Linked DNA regions of Homo sapiens: all the other regions are linked to region 1. The links are contacts of gene promoters, found by promoter capture Hi-C in blood cells and fetal thymus (Javierre and others, 2016). All regions are on one chromosome and are shown on one strand. Each heading gives the region's core, a stretch centred on a gene start or on the middle of the fragment in contact. The rest is flanking DNA. Distances are from core to core; before and after follow the strand shown. Region 1 holds the start of AKAP10 (A-kinase anchoring protein 10). Region 2 overlaps SPECC1 (sperm antigen with calponin homology and coiled-coil domains 1). Region 3 overlaps SPECC1 (sperm antigen with calponin homology and coiled-coil domains 1). Region 4 overlaps SPECC1 (sperm antigen with calponin homology and coiled-coil domains 1).

Region 1 (2,700 bases), core at 147-2,646:
GACTGAGATCGCGCCATTGCACTCGAGCCTGGGCAACAAGAGCGAAACTCCGTCTCAAAACAAAAAAAGAAAACAAAACCCATTTCTGTCTGGTACTTTTTTTTTGAGACGGAGTTTCGCTCTTTTTGCCCAGGCTGGAGTGCAATGGTGCTATCTCGGCTCACCGCAACCTCCGCCTCCCAGGTTCAAGCGATTCTCCTGCTTCAGCCTCCCAAGTAGCTGGCATTACAGGCATGCGCCACCACCCTGGCTAATTTTGTATTTTTAGTAGACACGGGGTTTCTCCATGTTGGTCAGGCTGGTCTTGAACTCCCGATCTCAGGTGATCCACCCGCCAAGCCTCCCAAAGTGCTGGGATTACAGGCGTGAGCCACCGCGCCCGGCCTCTGTCTGGTACATTTTATCTGAAGCAACAGGAATTGACAGGAAAAATCACTGCTGTCCACAGACCCATACTTGCTCACTTCGGATATGTATTTTTAATGAAGTGCAACAACGTTACCCAGAATCAAAATTAAGCTGTTTCTACGTAAACATTGGGCAGGTAATACAACTGGAAATCAAAAATGTAAGTAGTTCGTTTGTAAGTTAGGGTTCCAGTAGTTAGCAAACTTGCCAAAGTCATCAAAAGTAGTGGTCTTCCTGTTGGGGAACTTTAGCAATAAGTAATTTTATTTTAGTAACAGCAGTAACTACCCCTCCCCCCAAAGAGGAAATTGGAAGACAGCACTGGGTGAAGAAAACAATTTTTTCACGTGTTGCTTTTAGACATAAAACCCTCAACATTTGGAAACTTCAGACTTCCATAATAAGGTTCTAAAGAGATTTCCTTGATCTTGATCCACGGTCCTCAAAGAAACACAAAAAAACTAACCCCCACCTAAGAACTGTTCTTAACCAAACAGGCAGGAACTTCTATGGGCTTTAGCAATCGCTTCTGAACCAGCGCGACAATACTCCTCTGACCTCGCGCAAGAAGGCCACCTTCTCCCTCCCAGAAGAGTCCCGGAGCAGAGCAAGGCACTCAGGGGGCATCTGCGCCGAGGTCGAGGCTCGCTGAAGGCCTTGCTGCCGCCTTGGGGAAAGCCCTCGCAGGCCCACCTGCCCCACCGCCGCCCCTGAGGCCCGGCCTGACTCCCCGCCGGCGCCCCCTCAGCTACCTTTCCGCCGGAAGAAGGACATGGCGGGGCCCGGGTCGGGACGGAGGGTGCGGGGGGACTGGCGCGGGGAGGGCCCGGCTCCCCTCATTCAGCAACCGGCCCGGACTTCCGGGTCCAGAGGGGCCGCTGCACTAGCGCGAAAAGGGACCCTTCTTCCGGGAGTGGGCCCCACCGCCTCCTCGGGATGCCCAGGCAGCTCCAGCCGCCATATTATCAACAAGCCGCCCGCCCGGAGTTCCGGTCCTTCCCCGCGCTAGGCTTCACGGGAGGTCAAGCGCCGGCCCCGCCCCTTTTCCCCATCCCCCTCCCGCGGGTGCAGGGGCGCACGCCCGCATCGCCCACGTGACCCGCGCGTGCTACCCGCGCCTCTTTCCCGGGCCCTGGGTGCCTGGAGCGAGCCACCGTTCCTGCAGCTGTTTTGTGGCGTCTGTCGCCGGCCCCCGGTGGAGCGCTGCAGACCCAGTCTCTGCAAAACTAACTCCCTGGGGCGGGAGCCCTCCCAGCAGCTGGAACGGGGCGGGCCTTAGGTCCCCGGCTTCCGGCCCCTGGGTACCCTTCAAATTGTGCCCTTCTAAAAGGCAGGGTCAACCCTGCCACGCTCCAGCTCGACCCCTCCTGCTCCTCCGTTTGAGTTTTGCTCACAGGCGCTGGCCGGCACGAGCAGCTTCACCCTGCACCCCAGTCCCTGCTTCCTCAGGAGAACCCGCCACGGCCTGCGGGTTCGAGGCGATGCAGAACCCTGATTAGGAAAAGGCACAACCTGCCGCATGCGGAACCAGCAGCTCCCTGGATCATTAGCGAATGAAAAGGGGAAGCGGGCTTATTTCGGAGTGCAGTCCCTGCGAATGCTCAACTTTGTAAGGGACTGCAACATAAAAGCCTCGCCAGTATTTAAAAGCTAGCTCCAGTGAATCATCCTTGCTCAAATGCCATTTTCCTGTGAATCTTCTGACCCTCTACTCCCAAAGCAAAATCAATCAAGCCTCCCTGTCTTTGGTGCTTCTTAACACCCGGCGAGTGCGCTCAGCGGCTGAGGTTGTAACTGCTCCCTGGGGTTGGGGTTGGGGAGGGCAGGAAGGTAATAGTAACTCAATAAATGTTCGCTGGGGTTTTTAAACCAATGAAGTTTATCATGTGACGGATGGGGAAACAGGCCCAGAAGAGACAACTAGCCCAAGATTGTTCAGAATGTTAGAAATACCAAAATTGTTAGAAATAGATAATCGGTGCCACGAAGAAAAGTCAGCACGGAGACAAAAGATCTCCAGCAAGGCAATCTTTACTTTCTGCAGAAAGGGTGCTCAATCGCAGATGGAACGATGTCGAGAGCACACCTGAACAAAGGAAAAGCAAACATATTTATCCCTTACGCATTTGGGTCGTCCTCACTGCTATGTCCTGCATCCATTGGCTGGAGCGGGACCTCACACTCTTAAACTGATAGCCGATTTGCTAATAGCCTAAAACTTTCTAAATAGGTAAGTGCAAGGAAGAACGAAGAAGGAGAGGAAGTTGCTTACCGAAAGGTTTAAGGAAGCAA
Region 2 (2,700 bases), core at 189-2,688, 260 kb after region 1:
TGTCACCTAGGCTGGAGTGCAGTGGTACAGTCATGGCTCACTGCAGCCTCAACCTCCTGGACTTGAGCAGTCCTCCCACCCCAGCCTCCTGAGTAGCTGGGACTACAGGGGCACACCACCATGTCCAGCTAATTTTTTTTTTTTTTTTTTTTTTTTTTTTTTTTGGTAGACACGAGGTCTCACTGTGTTGCACAGAGAGACTGGTATCGAACTCCTGGGCTCAAGTGATCCTCCCAACTCAGCCTCCCAAAGTGCAGGGATTACAGCCATGAGCCACCATGCCCAGCCCTTTCTAAGCACATCTTTGTATGTTTACTAACCACTGCATTTTCTCTTCTAAGAATTACTAGTTTTGCAACTTTTCCCTGCTTTTTCACTGAGCTGATTGTTTTTTTCTCATCAGCTTATAAGTCAGTATTTTATTAGGGATACGGTTGTATCCCCTATATTATGAGCCTTTATCATATTTTTCATGTGATATGGCTTTATCTTTATCATAGAAAATTTTATATTTTTATGTAAACTGTTAGTGTTTTCCTTTACTCTTTTTTTTAAGATTCCTTCTCCCCAGTATTATACAAATGTGCTATTAAATGTCTTCATCTACTTGATGCACACACATATGCAGGCCATTTGATCCACCTCTCTTTATTTAATCTGATGTGAGGTGTGGTTCTTTTTCTCCCACTGGGTAGCACTGTTTATTACCAGAGTCATCCTTTGTCCACTGAATTGAAATCCCACCTTTACATGGTTTATGTCATCCACATTCAGAGAGACCTGCCCTAGATGTGCTCCCATTTCTTTCTCTTTTGAGTTAGCTCTGCTTTAAAATATTCATAGATTATTAGATTGCTTATATTACTTTTAACTCATCCTTTCATTTAAAATTTTTATTTTATTGAATTTTAAGGCAGACAGTATCAGTGTTGAACTCTGTTTCCAGTCATGAATTTACAAACGCCAGTCCTCTCTTGAGTGCAGTTTCCCCTTCACTTTGTATTATGAACTGTTTGCATCGAGCAGGGCATGATTTTGCCTGTCACCTTCTCTTGCTGAAGCAGATCCAGGTGTGGCAGGGCCTGACGTTTGCCCCAGGTCCGTGTCTGAATTCTGCTCAGATCCACTGCCTTTGCCTGACAGTGCTTCTGATCTTCTTCTCATGACTTAAACGTGTTGGGAGGCTCTTGAAGGTACATTTGTATTACATACTTGGAGGTACAGAAGCCCAGGTAGAGTAGAGAAGGGTGAGTGCCTAGTTGGGAAATTCACCTGTACCCAGTTTCTTCTCTGCCTGGTGAGCCTGGAACGCAGAGCCAGCTCTCTGGATCTCTTTGCGTGCCCCTCATCCATTTTAGGTGCACACTGTGGCTCTTCCTATCCTGCCCCTTGTCACTACTGCCCTTTATGCCTAGGGTAAACCAACCTTGGCCTTCTCGGATGTAAATTCTTCTTGTTCCTGATCCTTTGCCAAAACGCCGTGCATCTCTCTGGGCTTCTCATGCTCCTCTCCAGCCTTGGCCCTCTAGGGTGGGGGACATTAGTTGGGGTTTTCCCATATCTCCATTTTCTTTGGAAGGGAATTGAGGGAAAGCCCTTGGTATTGTATTTTCATTCCCCCGACCGTGTACTCTCTATTAGCAGAAATTCTTCAGAATCTAAGCCACGTCAATGATACTCGACTACAGGACTTTTACTATTTGATTCTTATTGTTGGGATTTGTAGATTATGATGCTGGTGTTCAAATTACTTTCTTATCCTGTTTGTTTTTATTGTTATATATGCTTTTACTGAAATTTGAAAGTGAAATTTAGAAGATATTGTTTGACACCTAAGAGACAAAGTACTTCATAATTTCTGTCTTCAAATAGAGTGAAAAACTTCTGTTAGATTTGTTTTATGCAAAATAAGTATTTAGAAAAAATTACATTCCAGGCAAGGGCATAGAATGAGCAAAGGCACAGAGGCAGGGCATAAAAGTAAAAAACTTCAGGTGAATAGTCCAAAACTAGATGGGCAGAGGGGAGTCTTGGGAGATTAACTGAAAGACCTGGGGTTGGGCTTTGTTCAGGTGTTCAGTAAAGAGACCGGCAGGCGTGAGCATGTGGTTGACATGCGACCCGCCCTCTTCACAAATATTAATCTGCCAATTGTGAAGGTAGCAGTGGTGCCATACAACACTACCCAAATGGAGTTAACCTTTGAATACTTTAAAAATCATCATGTACAGGAGCTCACCTGTTCCTGGATCAGAATGAACAATGACATAAAGTGCTGTTTTTAGGAAGTAAATGCTGTAGACCATGACTGACATTTGAAAACTCTGTTCTCTAACATAACAAGGAAAGCAGCAAATTAGAGAGGTTAAATAAAAGTTTTAAAGGGAAATAATTAGAGACATGTATGTATATGTGCTTAAATGACAAGGTGAGGCATGGAAGGCAGACCGACATTCAGTGAGGAGGGCCATGTGCCTTGCTGTGCTCCATGGAGACACTGTCTGCTTATGGAGTGTGCATCACCTGCTGTGTGTGACACAGCATCAGGCGGTCTGGCCTGCAACTGTTGTTCTCTAGTATCTGGCCTGCAACTGTTGTTCTCTAGTATGGGTTGCCGCCTTTTAAGAGCAGATTATTGTATAAAGATAGGAACACTGAAATAACTTGGTAGTATTTTTTAAATGTACTTAAAATTTAGGA
Region 3 (2,700 bases), core at 162-2,661, 280 kb after region 1:
TTTTCTCAACAAGGCTTTATTGGAGCTTATGCCCTTATCCCTCAGGCATGAGGGAGGAAGCACGGGAGAGGGAGGATTCTCTGGCTGACTCCTTGAAATGAGCTGGTAGGGATTTTTTTATTAAGCAAAGTGCAGGAATTGATATCAACATAGAGAATGTGGGCTGGGCTGGGTAGATCATATGAGGGGTAGGGGATGTGGGTCAGTTTATCTGCTGGCGACGGTTGTCTTGAGTCATGGGCCACCTAGTGTTCTGGTTGGTGGCAGCAAGGCTGTAAATCAGTTGTTTAGCATTCTTCCCTGAGATGAGGACATTTGCAACTTTGGTTGGATATGTTGGATTTCCTAGGGCCAGTTTCTGGAATTATTTAAGTAAAAGAATTAAACATTCTTTTATTCTTTTAAACATTATGAGAGTGCGGAAAAACAGTATGGCTATTTTCTTTGCATGACTGTTAAGCAGGTATGTCAGTGAAGTAGTGGTGTGGGTTTTGTGATCAGTGGGAATGCATGAAAGAATGCTATAGTGGGGATGAGCTGAAGCCAAGTCCTGTCCCTGCTGTCTCAGAAGAAGACACAAGCTCCAGTGGCTCACGCCTGTAATCCTAGCACTTTGGGAGGCCGAGGTGGGCAGATCACGAGGTCAGGAGATCGAGACCATCCTGGCTAACACAGTGAAACCCCATCTCTACTAAAAATACAAAAAATTAGCCGGGCGTGGTGGCGGGCGCCTGTAGTCACAGCTACTCGGGAGGCTGAGGCAGGAGAATGGTGTGAACCCGGGAGGCGAAGCTTGCAGTGAGCCAAGATTGCGCCACTGCACTCCAGGCTGGGCGACAGAGCAAGACTCCGTCTCAAAAAAAAAAAAAAAAAAAAAGCAGACACAAGCTCCCCGAGCAGTGATGCCTCCACCCAAGAAGACAGCTTTTGCTGAATTACCCTCCTGAAGAAGAGTGCTTTGCCTAATTCGCATAAAGGTCCTATGTAGTTGGGCCTCCAAAACTTCTCCAAACATTTTGTTTCTATTGTTTTGAGAATTGTTTGCGTTTAGTTTAAGAGTTTTTGTTTTCTAGGACAGTATCTGTTTTCTGTGAATATCAGAAAAGGGAAGTAATACCTGATGTAAGTTTAAGTTTTTTTCTTGTGAAATACACAAAGATAAAATGCACAAAATATAAATCATAATTTCTTGAACTGTGAGGAAGTGAAAAGTCATGCAGTCACCACTCCCATCCAGAAGAGGAGCATCACCAGCTCCCACAGACCCTTCCTATGACTTTCCCATCATAGCCCTCAGTACTCCCTAAGATAACCATTGTCCTCAATTCTCCTTCCAGATTTTTACAAAAGTATGCATCCGTAAGTACTATGTTAGTATTGCTTGCATTTGAATTTTATTACAAATGGAATAAAAAACTATGTAATATTTGCAGCTAGCTTTTTTTACACGGTATTGAGTCAGTGAGATTTATCCTCATTGTTGCATATAGCTGTAATTTGTTCATTTTCTTCACCATTTAGTAACCCATTGTAGGATTATACCATTATTTATCCATTCGATTATTGATGGAGAGTTGAGTCATTTCTAGTTTGGAGCTATTATGAATAACGCTGTTATGTTCTTGTGCGTATTTCCTGAAAAACATATGTGCTCATTCCTGCTGGATACATGCTTAAGAATGGAATTCCTGGGCCATAGGGTATGCATACAATCTAGTGGATAGTGCCAAACAGATGACTGAAGTAATTGTATAATTTATGTCTCTCCAGCAATTTATGAGAGATTTATTTCTCTGCATTCACATCAACACTTGGTATTGTCAGTCTTTTTACTCAAGGTCATGTGGGTAATGTGTAGTACTGTCTCACTGTGGTTTTGGTTTGCATTTTCCTGTTGGCTGGGGAGGCTGAACACCTTTTCATATGCAAATAGATACCCTCTTTAAAATTGGCAATTCCTACTGCATTCTTAACAATATTTTGCTAAAATTTCGGAAGATTCCAGCACCGTAATACTCCCTTCCCAGGCTGAAGCTTTTGAGGGAGGTGGGGATGGAAAATGAAAGAAGCTAGCAAGAAAAACCCAGCCTCAGCCAAGATCCATCCCAGATAGTAAATTAGCAGGGCTGGGAGTCTCTGTCATGTCAGCAGTCAGATGTCTTAAAACCAGAATCTACCCAGAGTATGTGTATCCTGTATCTTTGCCATTACCTTCTTTTCACTTTATGTTAAAAAAGAAAAAGAATCGCAGCACTTTGAGAGGCCGAGGGGGCAGGATTGTTTGCGCCCAGGAGTTTGAGGCTGCAGTGAGCTGAGATAGCACCACTGTAGTGCAGTGTGGGTCAGAAAAAAGAAAAGAAAAACCTGTCATGCTACTGACCAATAATAGAGGCTCCCAAAGTATAAACTCGCCTCAGACCCTTGTTTATTCTTCCTGCTACCCTGTCCACTCTGCCTCTGCCCTGTTTCAAGGATGGACCATGCCATGAAGGAAGGCCTCTTGGTTACAGCCTCCCCCAGCCCATCAGCCACGCTGCCGAGGACACGGGAAAGAATAAGAAGCCATAAGAACCAATAGCTATGACTTCTTATTCTTTCCTGTGTCCTTGGCAGCGTGACTGATGGGCTGGGGAGGCTGTAACCAAGGGGCCTTCCTTCATGGCAGTTGAACAATGTGAACACTTGGACACAGGAAGGGGA
Region 4 (2,700 bases), core at 128-2,627, 300 kb after region 1:
GGTGACAGAGTGAGACCCTGTCTCTCTCTCTCTCTCTCTCTTTTTTTTTTTAAAGGTTCTTACCATGAGTTAGCCTCGTCTTCTGACTTCCCAGGGTCATTTGAAGGAAGCATCTGCATCAAAACTGCCAATTTACACTTTAAAATTTTTTATATAAATGTTAGATGTTTTGCCAGCTTCAGGAAGGAAAAACAGGATTTTCAAAATAAAATGTTATAAGAATGTGTCATCCTCCTGGGGACTGAGGGTGATTTAAGTCCCTTGGTCTTCTTTCCTCCCATGGGCTGTTTGTCCCCAGCTGAGGGCCTCCATGGGTCAAGTATGCCAGCAGCTGCTGCTGCAGCATAACACTGCCCAACACCAAAGCCATCATCTTGTCACCATTCAGAAAAAGGAGGCCTTGATTTTTGCTGCTGTTCCTTCTCCATCCCCCAGGACAGCATGTGAGTCTATTTAGATAATCACAGTCCCAGGTGAATCTGCACTGAGCATTTTTTCCATTCTCTTACTCGTGAAATGTTCATTTGGGAAAAAGAAGTAATTTCATGGCAAGACACTTATGATTTCACAGGCTGAATTCAGTCTTTCTGAGGGTAGAAGGTTAACGGAGTTGAAGGTTACTTTTCTTTCTTTTTTTTTTTTTCTTTTTTTTTTTTTTCTGAGATGGAGTTTCTCCCTTGTTGCCCAGGCTGGAGTGCAATGGTGCGATCTCAGCTCACTGCAACCTCTGCCCCCTGGGTTCAAGCGATTCTCCTGCCTCAGCCTCCCGAGTAGCTGGGATTGCAGGCATGCGCCACCATGCCCGGCTAATTTTGTATTTTTAGTAGAGAAAGGGTTTCTCCATGTTGGTCAGGCTGATCTTGAACTCCCGACCTCAGGTGATCCGCCTGCCTTGGCCTCCCAAAGTGTTGGGATTACAGGTATGAGCCACCGCGCCCAGCCTTGAAGGTTACTTTTCTAGTATAAACTAAACTTGATCTTGGAACAAAATTCCTTATAATCAATTTTTCAGTTATTGCATATTATTTTCTTAGTACAATTCTAATTCTGCTGACTACAGAGTCAGAAAGGGTTTAAAAACCATGGTGACAGGTGGTCTCCCAGCCAGAGCTGTGGTTTTGGAAGACATGAGGAAGACCACAACTCCTGAACTAGGATGGGGGTTGGGATATGGAGAGGAGAAGGTGGACAGATGGATGCAGAAGCAGAGTGGCTGACACACGCTGCAACACAGATGGGTCTGAGGATGCTTCAGTGAGTGAAATCAGCCCATCACCAAAGGGCACGTGCTGTGTGGTGGAGGAACATAGTCGCATGTGTGTTGTTGGGAGGTGGAGTTTAAGGTGGAAGAACCTCTTTGAGGGCAATTTGGCAGAATCCATCAAAATGGATTCCACCTGTGTGCAGAGAGGTGCATGGGAGGACAATTATCGCAGTACTGTTTGTGATAACAGAAAACTGGAAACAACCTAAACGGGCTGCTGTCTCCATCCATGTGATGGACCTGCATGTGTCGTCAGAGAACAAAGTAGCGAATGGTGATGGAAGTAAAGCTAGCAGTGACAAAATATTTACCACGTGACCGACATTGTCTAAGTGCATCTAATCTTGACCACAATCTCATGAGTTAGGCATTTTGTATCCATTTTACAAATACAAAACTAAGGCAGCAAGAGGCTCCATGACTGCTCAGAGTCACACCCTAGTAAGGGATAGAGCTGGGACTGAACTCCTGCTGTTGGGCCCAGCATCCAGTCCCTTGGTCTCTACACTGAAACTGTTCATCCAGATGTCGTGAAGGACCTAGCTCTATATATCTTGGTAAGGGTGCAGAACATGCCACCATCTGCATAAAAGGGGGAAATACACATGCATGTTTGCATAAGTGCAAGACAGCACTGTCCTGTAGAACCCTCTGTGATGATGGGAATGTTCTATATCTGTGCTGGCCAATCCTGTAGCCACAGGTGGCTGCTGAGCACTTAAAAGATTCCTAATGTGACTGAGAAATGGAATTTTGATATTATTTAATTTTAACTAATTTAAACAGCCACATGGGGCTGGTGGCTGTCGTATGGGGCAATGCAAGGTAGAATATAGACAGATGGATGTTAAAGAAAAGATCACCGGATTTTGTGGTTTGCAATCCCTACTTTTAAAAAACCTTCTGCAGAAGCATCATTGGAAGAACGGGTTTCATAACTGTTTATTTCAGAACCACTAATTTAATCTAGCCACTTCATTTGAGAGATGAGGAAACTTAAGGCAGAAAAGTTGAGTCACTTTCCTAAAGTCATATTCAGCTGCGTTAGTGTGAGGAGGAAGGAGCGGGTCACAGTTTGGTTTGGTTTGTTCCTCTTTAGAGCATCGGACATTCTCGTTTGCCAGGGGCTTCATTCAATCTGATGTCAGCTCAGTTCTTAGCATGGCCGGTCGGTTCCTGGAAATGGCGGCTTTGGGTGAAACCATGTGCTGTAAGCCATGGGAACTCAACTCTGGCCCATGTCAATTAGCCTGCGGTGAAACTGGTTTTGTTATACAGCGTGTCACCATTTCACTTAATGTTACAGTGTCCAAGAACCTCCCAACATTAAGTGAGGACTTACTATAAAAGAAAGAAAGAACCAGACTTTTGTCTCCTGGGCTCCCAGAACTCCATGAGGAATCTTGCAGTGGCTCGCCCTTTCCTGAAGCCCCAGA

What was found. Contacts are between HindIII fragments. The CHiCAGO score rates a contact against its expected background, and 5 or more counts as called.
Region 2: a fragment that was not itself captured here is called in contact with the fragment with the promoter of AKAP10 in region 1 in 8 of 17 cell types (M2 macrophages, megakaryocytes, M1 macrophages and 5 more); the score reaches 9.0 in M2 macrophages.
Region 3: a contact is called between a fragment that was not itself captured here and the fragment with the promoter of AKAP10 in region 1, in 1 of 17 cell types (M2 macrophages). The highest score is 5.0, in M2 macrophages.
Region 4: a contact is called between a fragment that was not itself captured here and the fragment with the promoter of AKAP10 in region 1, in 12 of 17 cell types (monocytes, M2 macrophages, M1 macrophages and 9 more). The highest score is 13.3, in monocytes.

Annotation. Positions count from the first base shown.
Region 1 is chr17:19,976,432-19,979,131 of GRCh38, forward strand. AKAP10 (A-kinase anchoring protein 10) reads right to left here and starts at 1,397. Exons shown (of 15, transcript NM_007202.4): 1 at 1,161-1,397. The coding sequence starts at 1,248. RefSeq lists a silencer at 1,105-1,294 and an enhancer at 1,767-2,480. The HindIII fragment of the contact is 5,200 bases long and covers 1-2,700 here.
Region 2 is chr17:20,239,929-20,242,628 of GRCh38, forward strand. All of the region lies in intron 7 of SPECC1 (sperm antigen with calponin homology and coiled-coil domains 1), which reads left to right. Among named protein-coding and RNA genes, the nearest start is that of FAM106B, 180 kb to the right of the region's middle. The HindIII fragment of the contact is 6,498 bases long and covers 1-2,700 here.
Region 3 is chr17:20,260,646-20,263,345 of GRCh38, forward strand. The region is part of intron 12 of SPECC1 (sperm antigen with calponin homology and coiled-coil domains 1); the gene reads left to right. Among named protein-coding and RNA genes, the nearest start is that of FAM106B, 160 kb to the right of the region's middle. The HindIII fragment of the contact is 1,242 bases long and covers 791-2,032 here.
Region 4 is chr17:20,278,680-20,281,379 of GRCh38, forward strand. All of the region lies in intron 12 of SPECC1 (sperm antigen with calponin homology and coiled-coil domains 1), which reads left to right. Among named protein-coding and RNA genes, the nearest start is that of FAM106B, 140 kb to the right of the region's middle. The HindIII fragment of the contact is 8,101 bases long and covers 1-2,700 here.